2 separate regions of the Homo sapiens genome follow, and region 2 is linked to region 1. The links are contacts of gene promoters, found by promoter capture Hi-C in blood cells and fetal thymus (Javierre and others, 2016). All regions are on one chromosome and are shown on one strand. The core of a region is centred on a gene start or on the middle of the fragment in contact, and the rest is flanking DNA. Distances in the headings are between cores, read along the strand shown.

Evidence for each region. Contacts are between HindIII fragments. The CHiCAGO score rates a contact against its expected background, and 5 or more counts as called.
Region 2: a contact is called between the fragment with the promoter of SIAH2-AS1 here and a fragment that was not itself captured in region 1, in 1 of 17 cell types (activated CD4 T cells). The highest score is 5.5, in activated CD4 T cells.

Annotation. Positions count from the first base shown.
Region 1 is chr3:157,172,189-157,174,888 of GRCh38, forward strand. LOC101928236 (a long non-coding RNA gene) reads left to right here and starts at 1,512. Exons shown (of 10, transcript XR_007096141.1): 1 at 1,512-2,367; 2 at 2,561-2,700. It also overlaps the pseudogene RNA5SP146. RefSeq lists enhancers at 2,161-2,700, 2,647-2,700. The HindIII fragment of the contact is 1,335 bases long and covers 764-2,098 here.
Region 2 is chr3:150,760,560-150,763,259 of GRCh38, forward strand. SIAH2-AS1 (SIAH2 and CLRN1 antisense RNA 1) reads left to right here and starts at 1,378. Exons shown (of 3, transcript NR_187306.1): 1 at 1,378-1,421; 2 at 1,780-1,848. It overlaps SIAH2 (siah E3 ubiquitin protein ligase 2), which reads right to left and starts at 2,610. Exons shown (of 2, transcript NM_005067.7): 1 at 1,874-2,610. The coding sequence starts at 2,290. RefSeq lists enhancers at 165-264, 2,081-2,700 and a silencer at 2,136-2,700. The HindIII fragment of the contact is 3,527 bases long and covers 1-2,700 here.

The DNA.
Region 1 (2,700 bases), core at 181-2,680:
TGTGTGTGTGTGTGTGTGTGTGTGTGTGTGTGTGTCTTGTGATATTTTTCACAATTCCAGGCCAACTACTTTGAAGCATGTTCCTAAATTTGGATGTGTCTGATTATTTCCTCATGATTAGATTCAGGTTAAAGATTTTTCAAGGAATACTCCATAGGTAATGTTGTATCTCCATGCTTCACATCTAGGGGCACACGATGCCCAATTTTTTGTTCAATTATTGGCTACTTTTTATCATTTGTTAAGGTGGTATCCATCAGATTTCTCCATTGTAAAAGTACCTTAACACCCTTGCAATTAATAAGTAATCCATGGGATTATTCTTCCACAGTAAATAGCATTCTAACAAATATCAGTATCAAAGAAAAATGGCCCATAATGAAATTTTGTACAGTTAGAATGACTCTAACAAATCTCTACTGAGTATTCACTAAACTATGTTATGCTAGGCACTAAGACCAAAGTGATGAACAAATAGAGTACATGGAATGCTACATGAAAGGGTAGAATGCTACAGGAGCATACAGGAGAGGAACAAAGACCATTACATGTGAAGAAATGGAAGTTCAGAGATGTGAAAGGACTCGACCAAGATTTTAGATCCAGTAGCAGAGTGAAATTAGAACGGTGGTTTTTCTGATGCCCAGTCCAGTGTTCTTTCCATGACCACACACAAGGGCTCTACTGTAATGTTGGTTCTCTGGAACAAGTATAGCATTTGTTACCACAGTGAAAACAATGATACCTTAGTACTAAAAGAACAAGCTTTCTCCAGATCTACCACAAGGTGCTTTAGAGGGAATTTCGATTTAAACTATGTGCATTGTAACATTGAAGTCACTGGAGACCTAGTCTAGTTTTGCCTCAGGGAACTGTTTCTTTATAGTGTCACTGTCACACACACATGCACATACACACGCAGGCACATGCATACAGCACATAACTGGATATTGCTTATCAGCCCCATCTTAAAAATAGCACAGAACAAGACTTTTATTTTCAGCAATCAGGAAACGTTCAGAGGTATCTACATCCTAGTCTTGAGAGTCGACTTATATTTGATACCTGATTTTTATAGTTTTCACAGCATTTTCATATACTATCACTGGACTCTCAAAAACAACACAGTTAAGGCAGGTGTGATTGGGCACAGCTGTAGTACCAGGTACTCAGGAGACTAAGGCGAGAGGATAACTTGATCCCAGGAGTTCAAGTCCAGCCTGGGCAACATAAGGAGACCTCATCTCTTAAAAAACACCTGAACTGGCCAGACGCGGTGGCTCACGCCTGTAATCCCAGCGCTTTGGGAGGCCGAGGTGGCTGGATCACCTGAGGTCAGGAGTTGGAGACCAGCGTGACCAACATGGTGAAACCCCGTTTGCGGTGTTAGCCAGGTGTGGTGCCGCATGCCTCTAATCCCAGCTACTTCAGGAGGCTGAGGCAGGAGACTCACTTGAACCCAGAAGGCGCAGGTTGCAGTGAGCCAAGATCGCGCCCATTGCACTCCAGCCTGGGTGACAAGAGCAAAACGCTGCCTCAAAAAAATACAAAAAACACAAAAAAAAACCCCACCTGAATTATTTCTTAAGGTGGGAAAGAGGGATCAGTGTAAAATGTTGGCTGGATTACTGTCTTGCCTTTAGATATAAAAATATCTAGTGTATACTTAATTTTCAGAATTACAAAATTAGGGAATGATCAAACGTATATATATATTTTATTTTTCAAAAGCCTGCGGCACCCAGTGTTTCAAGGTGGTCTCGCATTCAAGGACTAGCTAAGCAGGTCAGACCCTGCTTAGCTTCCAAGATCAGAGAAGACAGGGCAAGTTCAGGGTGGTGTGGCTGTGGACCATGTTTTTATACCTATAATTTATTTATATTCATTCACTCAATCCTGCTGTATGCAGGACGATCTCAGCTTCAAACTCAAAAGCTGGATCTGGTGGTCAGCTCTTTCAGGCACTGTTTTGTCATGGGATTTAAAGATCTCTTGTGCTTAGTTTTGGATCTGTAAACATAAATCCCAACCTGGATTCTTCCCTGGGCTGACGGAGTTCAGGGAGAAAGGTAGCAGTAGATAAGTCATATGCTGGAAAAGCTTGGACTCTACCCTGTCATGAAAACTTTCAGGAACATTTCTTATTTCTTTTTAGAGACAAGGTCTCACTATGTTGCCCAGGCTGGCCTCGAACTCCCGGGCTTCAGCAGTCCTCCCGCCTCACCCTCCGATGTAGCTAGGACTACAGGACCGCGACCCGGCGCTGCCTAAGAACTGTTTTTAAACGTGAAAGCCACGGCTATCATTTGCTTTTTGCTCTGCTCTTCATCTTCTGGATAAACCTCGTAACACACTGCTTGTTTTGGGGTAAGTGAATTTAAGTATTATTATGGCATTTCCAATTTTCACGGAAGGACTCTGGCGATATCATAATCGTCACAAGCCCTGAAACGGCCATCAGAGGTCAAGCAGGGAGGTGGGTTTTCTGGAGGGCTTAACTGTGGGGTAAGTGACTGGAGGGGGCTGATCAGTTTCCCCTTTCCCTTTTCCCGGAGCTCAGTGGTAGTCTGCTGCCTACGCCCCGTCAGACAAGTGGCCTGAGTCCCCCGCAACCCCTGCAGGTCCGGCCGCCGGCGCCAAGCCTCAAGGCATCCAAGCCAGGAACGATCGCGGTCAGCTCTGCCACGGAACATGTGCAAG
Region 2 (2,700 bases), core at 128-2,627, 6.4 Mb before region 1:
TAGCATAACTGTTTCCTTCCCTTTCTCTTGGGAACAACACAATTCTATTATGGTTACATTTTAAAAACAAATTATGGATTACTGACTAATATCAAATGCTCATTTGTGAACTAAAACTCACCTAAAAGCCATTTCTTTTGTTAGCCGCTGCGCGTTTAAGGGAAAGTAAAGGGGTGAGAAAATGGCTCCCCAGAAATCCTATGGGGCATCCCCCACCCCTGCAATATATCTCAAGCATCAAATAGCCACTCTATGTTAACTACCACCAAACCTTTTCCAACCACTAGGTTGTCACCTTTTTCACAACCCTAAGACAACTATGCAAATACTTTATCTAAATTTTGAGAAACTGGGCTGAGTGAATTAGTAAGCACTATATGAGGAGGGGTTAACAGCAATTTATTAAGGTTGCCTGAAACACCCTAGTCCAAACACCGATTCAAACTCTTATTTAAATATGCTATTTTAAACCTGATTTGCAGCAGGGCAGCAGACCAAATTAAAGCACTCATTTTACTGACCTGAGTCCCAAGCCTGAATTCTCTGGTGGATTATTTTTAATTTAAAAATGAGCTCTTGTCCTATAAAATAAGCAGCACCAAGGAGAAATGCAAGACAGCTTAAATGGCCCAAGAGGCAGCGCAAGTTACTTTTACAAAAAAACTGGAAAGTATTAGTGACATTATCTCCACTTCTAATTTCAGAAAATGACTTTACAGTATACTTCTAGGTTATAACGTAGACAAGTATGTCTGTGAAACTGCTCCTGAAGGTTTCCACGTAATAGCTGCAGGTAAACAAATGTTATAATATGACCACACAATGCAATACTATGCAGCCATTTAAAATACAATGAAGTCGACTAGGTTTCAGGCATAGAGAAATATGTGTGATAATATGAATTTAAGAACAGCAAGTTGCAGATGCCATTTTTGGAGAAAAACTTACATCTATGTGTGGGTATTAAAAAACCTCCCTGACATACACTGACATCTATGATTCTATATTTAGCTGCGAGGGTGTATGTATATATAGTTTAAAAAGATACACACTAAACCTAACAATGGTGGGAAAGGAGGGGAGAGATCTTGGTCTTTCATTTTACTTCTTGTCTTGGTGGCTTGCATTTTTCGCAAGGGCATTGAAAACTTTTTACATTAAATAAAAAATGAAGTGATGAGCTTTAAACAACTGTAACAACAGCTCTTGAGTGCCCTTGTTAATTTCTTGATTGACTGTTTTCACCCCACTTAGTACAACAACGCAGCCACAACTCCTCAGTCCTTCCCAGTCTTTGGAAGGCTAGGAGAGAAAAAGGCGTGGCTTGCAGGGTTTTCTTCTAGCTAGAGGAAAACAGGCTGTAGGCGCCCTTTTTTTAGCTACAATCCCGAGAGCTCCCACGTGTCAGGGGTGCGCAGACGGTAGGCGCGGGGTGCAGGACTCCAATTATCAATTCAGCCGAGCCCAGCGCTGGTAAAGGGGGCGTTTAGCTCGCCCGTTTCCTCCCTCCTCAATCCCCACACAGTCAGTTTCTCGGTCCAAGTTTTACTGGTGCGGCCCAGCCCTACCGAGAGTACCCGAATACACGTCTGCAGAGGACGCGGGCATTGGGCCGGGTGAGCTACGATGTTCTAACGATCAGCAAATGCCAATTAATCTGTTAATTGTCTATTAACAATTATTACTCGGTAAATGTCAACCCAGACCTACACCCAAAGTGGGCTTGAGGGAGGGTGGACGAAGTGTAAACATTTTTTCTTTTTTTTTTTTAAATGAGAGATGCCGCCCGCCTCTCCGGGCCTGCGAGTGGGCTGGCGGATACCGGAGTCCCTGAGGTCACCGGCGGAGGTACGTGGGCTGTCCCTGGGCTTACCTTACAGGGAAACAGGACTGCCGAGGCCACCTTCTCCATAGCCAGGTTCCTGATGCTGGGCGTCAGGGCGCCCCTGCACGTCGGGCAGCAGCTCAACTTCTGGCGGCATTGGTTACACACCAGGTGCCCGGCCTGGCACTGCAGAATAGGAGGCAGGACATAGTCAAAGCAGACCGGACACTCGAAGAGCGAGGTCAGCTCGTGGTGCTGCGGGGACACCGGGCCGGCCCCGCCGCCGCCGCCGGGGCCCGAGATCACCGCCGCCGCGGCGGGCACCGCGGACGAGCCGGGGCCCGCAGCCGAGATGGTGGCGGCGGCCGGGGGCGCAGCCGGGGACGGAGTGTGCTGGGGCTGCGGCGGCGGCTGCTTGCTGCAGGGTTTATTAGCGCTGGGGCCGGTGGAGGACGGGCGGCTCATCGCGCTCCGAACCAACCATGGAACTGCGGGCGCCTGCCTGCCGCGGGGCCGCCCGGGTCAAGGCGGTGCGCGCCCCGCGGGCAGCGAGCTCCGAGGCAACGCCACGGCGCCCAGCCCAGGTCCGGGCGGCGGAGACGCTCGGCGCCCGGCAGGCGGAGGGCTGGACCGCGCTGATGCACTCCGCAGCCCCCGGCGTTCCGAGCACGCCTCCGCGTCGGACCCCGCGCGGTGCCCTCCTCCCGGCGGCGTCCCGGGCCCCGAACCCCAGCGGTGCGCAGAGCCCTGGCCCACCCGCTTCTGGAACAGCCGCTGACGCAAGCCCCGGGGGCGCGCGCGGACGTGACGCCTGGACACGTGTGCGGCCGCCCAGGCGCGCGGGGACTGGCAGAGCCACCCTGCGCCGGGGCGCT